2 separate regions of the Homo sapiens genome follow, and region 2 is linked to region 1. Evidence: promoter capture Hi-C in 16 types of primary human blood cells and fetal thymus (Javierre and others, 2016). All regions are on one chromosome and are shown on one strand. Each heading gives the region's core, a stretch centred on a gene start or on the middle of the fragment in contact. The rest is flanking DNA. Distances are from core to core; before and after follow the strand shown. Region 1 holds the start of CLEC12A-AS1 (CLEC12A antisense RNA 1). Region 2 has its middle 17 kb from the start of CLEC2D.

Evidence for each region. Contacts are between HindIII fragments. The CHiCAGO score rates a contact against its expected background, and 5 or more counts as called.
Region 2: a contact is called between a fragment that was not itself captured here and the fragment with the promoter of CLEC12A-AS1 in region 1, in 1 of 17 cell types (neutrophils). The highest score is 5.3, in neutrophils.

What each region holds. Positions count from the first base shown.
Region 1 is chr12:9,949,757-9,954,596 of GRCh38, reverse strand. CLEC12A-AS1 (CLEC12A antisense RNA 1) reads left to right here and starts at 1,260. Exons shown (of 3, transcript NR_135047.1): 1 at 1,260-2,047; 2 at 2,518-3,695; 3 at 4,470-4,840. LOC124902874 (a long non-coding RNA gene) reads right to left here and starts at 2,940. Exons shown (of 2, transcript XR_007063207.1): 1 at 1,560-2,940. It also overlaps a transcript of CLEC12A not described here. The HindIII fragment of the contact is 17,088 bases long and covers 1-4,135 here.
Region 2 is chr12:9,649,085-9,655,927 of GRCh38, reverse strand. It overlaps the pseudogene LOC374443. Among named protein-coding and RNA genes, the nearest start is that of CLEC2D, 17 kb to the left of the region's middle. RefSeq lists an enhancer at 5,048-5,227 and a silencer at 6,003-6,052. The HindIII fragment of the contact is 2,535 bases long and covers 2,648-5,182 here.

The DNA of each region.
Region 1 (4,840 bases), core at 11-2,510:
TCACATGGTTGAACTTTATTTGTTCTGATAGGTAATCCAATAAAGGTTGTGAAACAAAATTTTGAATAAAGCAGTTTCCATGATAGTTTGATTATTTTTTTTTTTGAGACAGGATCTCCGTCACCCAGGCTGGAAGTGCAGTGGTGTGATCAAGGCTCACTGCAGCCTCAACCTCCCAGGCTCAGGTAATCCTCCCACCTCAGCCTCCTGAGTAGCTGGGACTACAGGTATGCACCATTACACCCAGCTAATATTTGTATTTTTTGTAGAGACAGGGTTTCACCATGTTGCCCAGGCTGGTCTCGAACTCCTGGGCTCAAGTATCTGCCCACCTCAGTTTCTTGCGCCCAGCTGACAGTTTGATTTTTTTTTTTTTTTTTTTTTTTTTTTTATTGATAATTCTTGGGTGTTTCTCACAGAGGGGATTTGGCAGGGTCATGGGACAATAGTGGAGGGAAGGTCAGCAGATAAACAAGTGAACAAAGGTCTCTGGTTTTCCTAGGCAGAGGACCCTGCGGCCTTCCGCAGTGTTTGTGTCCCTGATTACTTGAGATTAGGGATTGGTGATGACTCTTAACGAGCATGCTGCCTTCAAGCATCTGTTTAACAAAGCACATCTTGCACCGCCCTTAATCCATTTAACCCTGAGTGGACACAGCACATGTTTCAGAGAGCACAGGGTTGGGGGTAAGGTCACAGATCAACAGGATCCCAAGGCAGAAGAATCTTTCTTAGTGCAGAACAAAATGAAAAGTCTCCCATGTCTACTTCTTTCTACACAGACACGGCAACCATCCCATTTCTCAATCTTTTCCCCACCTTTCCCGCCTTTCTATTCCACAAAGCCGCCATTGTCATCCTGGCCCGTTCTCAATGAGCTGCTGGGCACACCTCCCAGACGGGGTGGTGGCCGGGCAGAGGGGCTCCTCACTTCCCAGTAGGGGCGGCCGGGCAGAGGCGCCCCTCACCTCCCGGACGGGGCGGCTGGCCGGGCAGGGGGCTGACCCCCCCACCTCCCTCCCGGACGGGGCGGCTGGCCAGGCAGAGGGGCTCCTCACTTCCCAGTAGGGGGCGGCCGGGCAGAGGCGCCCCTCACCTCCCGGACGGGGCGGCTGGCTGGGCGGGGGGGCTGACCCCCCCCACCTCCCTCCCGGACGGGGCGGCTGGCCAGGCGGGGGGCTGACCCCCCCACCTCCCTCCCGGACGGGGCGGCTGGCCAGGCGGGGGGCTGACCCCCCCACCTCCCTCCCGGACGGGGCAGCTGGCTGGGCGGGGGGGCTGACCCCCCATCTCCGTCCCAGACGGGGTGGCTGGCCGGGCTGAGGGGCTCCTCACTTCCCAGTAGGGGGGGGCGGGCAGAGGCGCCCCTCACCTCCTGGACGGGGCGGCTGGCCGGGCAGGGGGCTGACCCCCCCACCTCCCTCCCGGACGGCATGGCTGGCCAGGCGGGGGGCTGACCCCCCACCTCCCTCCCGGATGGGGCGGCTGGCCGGGCGGAGGGCTAACCCCCCCCACCTCCCTCCCGGACGGGGTGGCTGCTGGGCGGAGACGCTCCTCACTTCCCAGATGGGGTGGCTGCCGGGCGGAGAGGCTCCTCACTTCTCAGACGGGGCGGCTGCCGGGCGGAGGGGCTCCTCACTTCTCAGACGGGGTGGTTGCCAGGCAGAGGGTCTCCTCACTTCTCAGACGGGGCGGCCGGGCAGAGACGCTCCTCACCTCCCAGACGGGGTCTCGGCCGGGCAGAGGCGCTCCTCACATCCCAGATGGGGCGGCGGGGCAGAGGCGCTCCCCACATCTCAGACGATGGGCGGCCGGGCAGAGACGCTCCTCACTTCCTAGATGTGATGGCGGCTGGGAAGAGGCGCTCCTCACTTCCTAGATGGGATGGCGGCCGGGCGGAGACGCTCCTCACTTTCCAGACTGGGCAGCCAGGCAGAGGGGCTCCTCACATCCCAGACGATGGGTGGCCAGGCGGAGACACTCCTCACTTCCCAGACGGGGTGGCGGCCGGGCAGAGGCTGCAATCTCGGCACTTTGGGAGGCCAAGGCAGGTTGCTGGGAGGTGTAGGTTGTAGTGAGCCGAGATCACGCCACTGCACTCCAGCCTGGGCACCATTGAGCACTGAGTGAACGAGACTCCGTCTGCAATCCCGGCACCTCGGGAGGCCAAGGCTGGCGGATCACTCGCGGTTAGGGGCTGGAGACCGGCCCGGCCAACACAGCGAAACCCCGTCTCCACCAAAACCAGTCAGGCGTGGTGGTGCGTGCCTGCAATCGCAGGCACTCGGCAGGCTGAGGCAGGAGAATCAGGCAGGGAGGTTGCAGTGAGCCGAGATGGCAGCAGTACAGTCCAGCTTCGGCTCCACATGAGAGGGAGACCGTGGGGAGAGGGAGAGGGAGACGGAGAGGGAGAGGGAGAGGGAGACGGAGAGGGAGAGGGAGAGGGAGACGGAGAGGGAGAGGGAGAGGGAGAGGGAGAGCGCTCACATCCTGTTTTTTTTTTTTTCCTTGAGACAGGGTCTGACAGTTTGATTTTTAAAGGCCAAATCTCTCCAGACTCCAAAGAACTCTGTAGCCAAACAGCAGCACATACTAATCAGGCCTGCCTGTCCTTAGAGCAGCAGCATAGAAGCCTGGAGACATGGACTTCCATCCCATATTCACATTCAACAGCAAAATAAATCCAAATATAAGGCAGTGCTACAATTCAAAGACTGTCTGAGATCAGATGAGATTGGGCATGTTCAGCGTGATACGGGTAGAGATGTTCCCTCACTCCACTGGCCCACAGCCACATGCAGACCAACCCTGAAGAATACACCCAAGCGGTCTGCACTCAGATCAAACCCTGATCTCCCACAACTACATCAACACACAAACAACCACCAGAATACAATCTAACTGCTGCAACAATAAGCAAGTCCCAAGAGAGTCCAAACTGAAACAGTTGAGTTGCTTTCTCCCTGTTTGTTGGGCTAGTTCAATCTGCAAATGGAGATTCCTTCGGAATTTCTCAAATTGAGAAAAGCAGATCCTGCTGTCTGGACCCACAAATGACACTCACTTATCCAGACACATACTCAATTACTAACAAGCCCCAAGAGTGTCTGAACTGGAACAGTCAGGGTGCTTCCTCTCTCCGTCAGTTGGCCTTGCTGAACTTGCCAATGGAAATTCCTTCAGAATTTCTCAAATTGAGAGGAGCCATTCCCACTGTCGGTATCCACAAAAGACACTCACCTATCCACATGCAGAAGTCAAATTTGAAAGGCTGTTCTTCCTAGGCAATCAGAAATGTGGTTGGGGCTGGCAGCAGCAATGCTAAATAGAAAGACTAAAACCCACATCCTGCCTAAAACACATAGGCTGCTGCTTAGGGTTGCGGAAATTCTCCCAACTGGTGACAGCCAAGCCAAGAGCAATGTCTTCCTGATGAGGGAACCAAAATCTGTTACTGAAATGCCAGAGGTTCAGCCTAGGTCCCGTTACTCATTGCACAGAATGCCAATCACTGAGGCAAGTATTTCCAGGGGAGATGACTTTATTCAGTTGCTGCAGCTGAGAAGAACTGCAGATCAGTCTCAAATTCATCTCCCCAAGTGACTGAAATTGGGGGTTTACATAGCAGAGGAGGGATGTAGCTACGTGCAGGAAATAATGTAGCTATGTGTGGGAAAACAGAATTTGAATTTCAGGTAAAAATGACTTATTTTTAATGTAAGTATTGCTCATCAATATTTGTATTTGCTGTCTCTGCAATTATCTGTGGTCGATTGAAATTCAAATTTAACTGGAAATCTTGTGTCTTAATTTGTTAATATGGCCAGCATATCCATAAGCCCATTGGAGTGGATTGGCTGAAAAAGATGAAGACAAATTTGTACAGGCAGCACACATTCTTTTAATGAGAAGAGTGACTTAGTCTCACCACCCACCCTAAAGTACACTCTCCCCACTCTTCTACATACCTTGTCAGTCAACCTATTCACCACCCAATCCCATGTTTTTCACAGCATTTATCAAGTATTTCGGTGCCCGGTTAATATTTTCCAGATGGTTGAGAGGCATCAGGATATTCATTATGTTTCTTTTATGGACTAATTGCCTGCTACTCTAAGTCAAGTCACAGAAAGCTTATGGACTGAAGCAAGATCGCAGCTACTAAGGTTTCTGGAAAGTAACTTTGCTAGTAAAAGAAGCTTCATAATGCCTTCGATGGTTATTTATGTTGTAGCTTGTGTCAGAATGTCCTTCCTTTTTAAGGCTGAATAATATTCCATTGTATGTATATATGACATATTTTTATTCCACCCATTGATGGACTCTAGGGTTGCTGTAACCTGTTGTTAGCACAAAGTTCTAAATTCAGACTGCCGTAACAACAATAACAAAAAAACTGAAATATATGCACTTATACACCAAAATGCTAGGTCTAGTTGTCACTTTCTCTGCCTCTTTAAATTTTTCAGGGCAACAGGAGATTTGATGGGGAATGAACACCCCACAGCTCTGTGCAGGAGTGCCTGGAAGTGAGGCCAGTCAAGGGAATGCTGCCAGACAACCAACTCAGCTTCAGACCATCTTCAGATCGTAACCCACCAGGGACTGTGGGCTTTGCCAGACCACATTTTTGGTTACTGCAACTCAAGTTGGCTTCTAAATCTCAAAAAATGTGACAATGATACAGATTTTTTTATCTACTTTTGTCTAAAACATTTAAATACTCATTCTGAAGTAACTCATCTCAAAATCCAATGCTAGAAAAATGGAAATAATTACAGGCAGATGCAATGATTTAAAGGTTTAAAAGAAGCTGTCCATTCTAAAGAGTCAGAGGAAA
Region 2 (6,843 bases), core at 2,666-5,165, 300 kb after region 1:
CTCTTCTAAGGCCAATCCAATGGTCAGAAGGGCCTTTGTATCTTTTCAGGAAATTCTATAATAAAACAGAAACTAACACCATGAGCCCCTTTCTTTCATATTACTCTGGAGTCTCTCTTCCCTATCCCTTCTCTTTTTCACTGGCAGCGTGGTATAATTAAGCAGCATAAATTCTGGAGTGAGACTAATTCCCAGTTCTCAGTTTAAGTCATTTAACGTCTCTGATCCTAAATTACTTTATTTAAAGTGAGCATAAATCCCAGTTTCATTGGGAAATTCTCAGTTTATGCTTGTCATTCCACCAATGTATTAATGATCACTTTTAATGCCCTATATGTCTTAATCTAGATGACAAATTATATAATTACCTTACTTCTTAATAGAATGAGAACAATACATCTCATCTTACCAGCTCACCATGAGCATTACATGGGGAAATATATCTAAAATGTCTCACAGGGTTCCAGGCAGAGAACACACCCTCAACAAATGTTAGACATGAAAACACATCTCATGCCCCTGGAATGGGATCCTTCTTAGTATTTCAGCTTTAACCCTATGTAGCCGACCTGCCTCAGGGGGCTAAGTATTTAACAGAAAACATGATCCAAAAATATCTCTTACCAGTTCCTCCATAGTTGCAAACTGAGCAAGGCTGGCTTCTAATGAGACACAGAACGTTTGACTCAATGTCTAATTTCTTATGCCTTCAGAAAAATAAAAACATTTACTCCTAAATCTAATTCAGCTTTTTGGGCAAGCAGCGTATTTAGATGACTCTACCACTGGCTTTTCCTTTCTTGCTAAAAGTGAGACAATCACAATGAAACATAATAAAGAAATTTTCTCACCCATTTTATCTATTTTTCTGCTTACCTTCCTGAGGTCAATTTTGAAGTGTACATATCTGATTGTTGTTTTCCTAACTCATCACAAAGTGCCTTATCCTAAGCACAACAATCGTCAGTCCGGTGGTTTCCAGCTGGGTATCTGCACCCTTGACTTTCTGAAATTTACACTGACACTAACAGTTTCAAGGAAATCAATTTCTATAGCATCGACTTCCATAGTACTGTACTTTCACAGGGTCATACGGATGATTTTTCCATATCCTCCCTCATATTAGCCCTTCTTTCTCTTGACAAAGCAATGCTGAGGACCTATTACCTCTATACAAGAGATGATTTTTTTATGTATACAGTTCTCTGTACTTTCGTGCATTCTCAATCTGCTTAAGTAGAAGATACCAGCTCTTAAGGCCAGGTGATTTGCCTGAAAACATTTCAAGTAGAGATCTTACTTTATTTTTAATAAAAAATGACAATTCTGAGAGGAACTTGTCAGGAAATAGTTCCGTAAGCGGAATTCCTATACCCATAGCCTTTCTCATATCAATGGACGGCAAATGCATTCTTGCCAAGGCTCAAAAGAAGACAGGCTTACCTTTGACATTCCTCTGAGACGTTTTATCCAATTTGACATAAAATACTGTTGGCTCAGCTTTCAAAATATCCAGAGTCTGACCACCCTCCCCTACCTAGTCTCAATATAGCAATTAAATGATTATTCTACAATGAAAGTCACATCAAGACATTCCTCTCGTACAACTTCCCTCATCTAGTCTCCCTATTGCACTGAAGGTCAAAGCCAAAGTCTTTAACTGACCCTCAAGGTTCCTCCGTTCCTGATTCCCCATGGTATCACTCTTCTTCTCCATCTTCACTTTGCTTCACCTACAGCAGCCTCCTTGCTCTTCCTCAAATAAGCCAGGAAGAGTCCTCCTTCAGGCTTTGGTCTACTTGTTCTCTGCCTGGAATAGGTTCCTTCACATGGTTCCTCCATCTCTTTCAAAAGGTTGCTGAAATGTCACCTTCCTAAGAAGGCTTAGTTTTGTCAACCTATTGCAACCTGTTATACCTCCACCCTTATTTATTTTTACTTGTGTTTTTCTGCTGGAATATAAGTTCCAAAGGGCAGGAATTCTTTTGTGTGTATTTTGTTTGCTGATGTAATTCAAGCATTTCACACAGTGACAGGCACATAATGGAGCTTAATAAATATTTATTGACAACAAAAACATATGGAGAATATTGTACAGTTTGGAGAACAAGTAACTTACCTGACAAAACAATAGAAAGTGCAATCACACTTGTAGTCAGGACTGCAATGATGAACAAGCAACAATAAACCTTGACAGGAGTTACTGGAGATATAAGTGCTAGACATTGTCTTTGCAGAGTTTTATCTGTAAAATAGAAACATCAGAATCTCAATCTCAGGAATATCGTAGGGAGAAAAAATTTATCATAGAATCAACACTAAGATCAGATGTACTTCAATTCTCCTACTGCCAACTCCTTTCACAAAAGGGCTTGGTTCATAAATGAGAATAATGGCCCAAAGAGGGCTAGAGATAAAAATCGAATTCTCCCCACCCCCAGGGAATCTTCCAGTTACTGGAAAAAGAGTAGAAATTGGGATGAAAAAGAAACATACACAATCCAGATTTAGCCCCATAGTAAAGCAGCTGGTTAGAAGCAACAAGGGAAGCAGAAAATAAATCAATGTAATTCACCATATTGACAGAATGAGACAAGGGACAACATATGAGCATCTGAATAAATGCAGCAAGAGGATGTGAAAAGCTTAATATTCATCCACGATAGTAAGACTCAACAAATTAGAAATTGAAGAACTTTCTTCAACCTGATAAAGGGCATCTACAGAAAAACTACAACTAGCAACAACCTTAACGATGAAAGAATAAATGCTTTCCCCCAGTGACATAGAACAAGGCAAGGATGTCTGATCTCTCTCACCAATCCAATTTAACATTTTACTGGATGTCCTATTAGGGGCAAAAAGGCAAGAAAAAAGAAATAAATGTCATACAGATTGGAAAGAAATAAAAGCATTGCTATTCACAGACAACACAGTTGTCTGCATGTAAAATTCTAAGGAATCTACCAAATGGCTATGAGAATAAATGAATTTGGCAAAGCTACAGGATTACCTATGTTCATATATAAAAATCACTTATATTTCCATATTCATAATTATGAAGTGGAAATTTAAATATAAAAACAGTATCATTTATAATAACATGAAAGATATCAAATAAATATATCAAAATATGTTTAGGATCAGTATGATGAAAGCTGGAAACCAAAGGGACAAAGAAATCAAAGCAGACTTGAATCAACAGAGAGATATAAGATATTCATAGATTGGAATATGCAATATTGCTGGATGTCAATTATACCCAAACAGGTTTAGAGATTCAGTGCAATACTGATAAACATTGCAGTATGAATTTTTTGTAGAAATAAGCAAGGTAATTTTAAAATTATATGAAAAAGCAAAGAACTAGAATAGCCAAACAATTTTGAAGGAAAAAAAAATGGCCAAATTTGGAAATCAGGGAACCTGCTTTCGTAATTTACAAAGTAATAGAAACAAAGACAGTATGATATTGACAAAAGAACAGACACATAAATCAATGGAACAGAAAAAAGGTTTCAGAAACAAATCTAAACGTGTATCATCAATTGACATTTGACAGACGTGGAAAGTAATCAGGTAGGTAAGGGGTAATATTTTCTGAACATGTAGTGCTGGAACAATTGAGTGTCCTAATGCAAAACAGTGAACCTCAGCTCACACCTAATACCTTATAAGAAAATTAACTCAAAATAAATTTTAGACTCATATATAAAGCCTCAAACCCTAAAACTATTAGAAGAGGAAAATTACATTTTTGTGAACTTGAATTAGGCAAAAATTTCTTACATACAACACCAAAAGCATTATCAATATTTTAAAAATTGATAAATTGAACTTTAACGTAATTAAAACTCTCTGCTAGAAAAAAAACCCTGAAAAGGGAATAAAAAGACAAGCAAAGGCAGAAAAACATCTCTCTAAAAAGCGACTTGTATCTAGAATATATTAAGAACTCAAAACTCAACAATAAGAAAACGAAAACTAGATTAAAAAGTGGGCCAATGATTTGGAGATATACTTGATTAAAGAGGATATATGAATAGCAAACAAGTGCATAAAAACATGCTTGAAATAACCAGCCATTTGAGAAATACAAATTAAAACCATGAGTGACTACTACATGGTTATTAGAGTGGCAAACAAAACAGAAAAAGAAACAACTGCTGGTGAGGAAGGGATGTGATATGGTTTGGATCTTTGTCCCCACCCAAATCTTATGTTGAATTGTAATCTCCAGCGTTGGAGGTGGGGTCTGGTGGAAGGAGATTGGATCATGGGGGCAGATTTCCCCCTTGGCACTGTGTCATGATAAGAGTGAGTTCTCGTGAGATCTGGCGGTTGAAAACTGTGTGGTGCCCTCCCTCACTTCCTCTCTTCCTCCTGCTCTGGCCAAGTGAAGTATGGACTCCCCCTTTGCCTTCTGCCATGAATTGTAAGTTTCCTGAGGCATCCCCAGAAGCTGAGCAGATGCCAGAATCATGCTTCCTGGCCAGCCTGTGGAATGGTCAGCCAATTAAACCTCTTTTCTTTACAAATTACTCAGTCTCAGGCTATTTCTTTATAGCAGTGAGAGAATGGACAGGATGCAACTGGAATTTTCATGCATCATCACTGGAAATGCAAAATGTTATGGGCATTTTGGAAAACAGTTAAGCAGTTTGTTATGGTAAATGTAAATTCACCACATGCCCTAGCCATCCTATCCCTAGGTATTTAAACAAGGGAAGTGAAAACTTGTGTTTACCCAAAAACCTGTAAGGAATATTTTACACCAGGTTTATTCATTATCACAAAAAACTAGCAACAACTCAAATATGCTTCAGCTGCTGAAGAGGTAAACAACTATTCCTCAGCCCTAATAAAAGAAAAAACTCGATCACACATTCACAATTGTCAATTTCTTACTGTGTGTTAGCTGGCCAAACTTTTGTCAGGTTTTTCTCCTCCCCACAGGCCCTACACGTGTTTGCCCGCAAGTTTGCCTAAATGCCTCAAAGCACAGACTTGCAAAAAACATCCTGCCTTAACCTGACCACAGACCACATTGCACCATTTCCTGCTGAAACGCCTAGACTTTGCCTGCTCTCTCCCACACCACTAACTTTTTTTTTTTTTTTAAGACAGAGTCTCTGTCGCCCACGCTGGAGTGCAGGAGCATGATCTCGGCCCACTGTAAGCTTCCACCTCCCGGGTTCATGCCATTCTCCTGCCTCAGCCTCCCGAGTAGCTGGGACCACAGATGCCCACCACCATGCCCGGCTAATTTTTTGTATTTTGTTTAGTAGAGACGGGGTTTCAGCAGGTTAGCCAGGATGGTCTCAATCTCCTGACCTCGTGATCCACCCGCCTCAGCCTCCCAAATTGCTGGGATTATAGGCATAAGCCACCGCACCTGGCCTAACATATTTTTGAAATCAGTGTTATTCCTATTGCAACAGTCCTTTTGAATAAAGTTTCTCCCTAAGTCCAGACTTGTTTTTCTTTGACAAATGATACATACTATAATACAGATGACTTGAAAATGCATTATTGCTAAGTGAATGAAGTCAGATTCTACATTTACCTACTGCAAGATTCCATCGATGTGACATTCTGGAAAAGCAAAAGTGCAAGATCAGAAAACAGATGAGTGGTTGCCAAGGGCTAGCGGTAGAGGAAGAGACATTCTACAAAGGGACATGAGGGAATTTCGAGTGGGTGGGTATGGCTCTATATCTTGACTTTTATGGTAGTAACATGAGTATATATGTTTACCATAGAAATCTACACCAAAAGAGTGAATTTTACTGAATATAAATTATAATACTTTAAAAGTCCCTGCCAACTTTCGTCCGTTTAATATACATCTACAAGAATAACAGGGAGCTTCAGCTTAAATTCTAGACAGGGGGAAAGATGGGTAAGATTGGATGATCTTAAGCAGTAAATATCGTTTGGATTTTGGCTCATATAAAAATATCAACCTTTATTCTTTCTGGTTCTACACTAACGCAAAATTGTCTTAAAGGTTCAGAATACTAAGACTTCCGTAATTCTTTTTCATTGCTACTAGGGTAATGTGTAACTCTCCCCTTAAAACTTCCCCCAAATCTCCCATTTGCCTCTCTTAATAATCTTCTAAATGTGCCTGCTTTCTCTTCTTCTTTTTTACATCTCTAGCCCCTCCTACTAATACTGAGACAGCCAGGTGGGAAGGGGTCCCTGGAGAAACTCCAATTAGCCTGCCCACTGAGGTGGAGCCTTGGGAAGTTCACAAGGTTTGCAGCAGAGAGAAGCCTGAGCCTGGCCCCAGTTTTTCATTTGTAGAACCTGGGATTCAAACTGTCAGGTGGGAAGCGCTCCGGCGGAAGGACTCTGGCCCTGCAAGAGTACCTGTTTCCCCCTTTTTTTCCCTTTTTCACCCAATAAAACTCTGCTTCACACACCCTTTAAACCATCTGCGAGCCTGAATTTCCGTGGCCGTGGGACAAAGAATCCCATTTTTAGCTGAAATAAGGAAAAGTCCTGCAGCAATATTCCCACATGCATCTTGTTCCACTTCTCTCTTGCTCACTTATTTCTCTTCTACCTTTCTTACAGTGTGTCCTGACTCCCGCAAATTCATACCACTCTTAAGGTACACACTGAACACAATAACTCTTCAGACTTCTAGTTGGAAAAACAACATTAGGAATTATCTCTCAGAAGAACAGAGAAATAAAGCATTATTACTGATCAAATTTTAACTCAGTTTCAGGATCTGAAAAACTTAAATCACAGGATGCATTTTAAAAAACAAGTTTCACAACTGTACCAGGTAACAAATATTTAGTTTCGGTTCTGTAAACATTCTTTAGAATA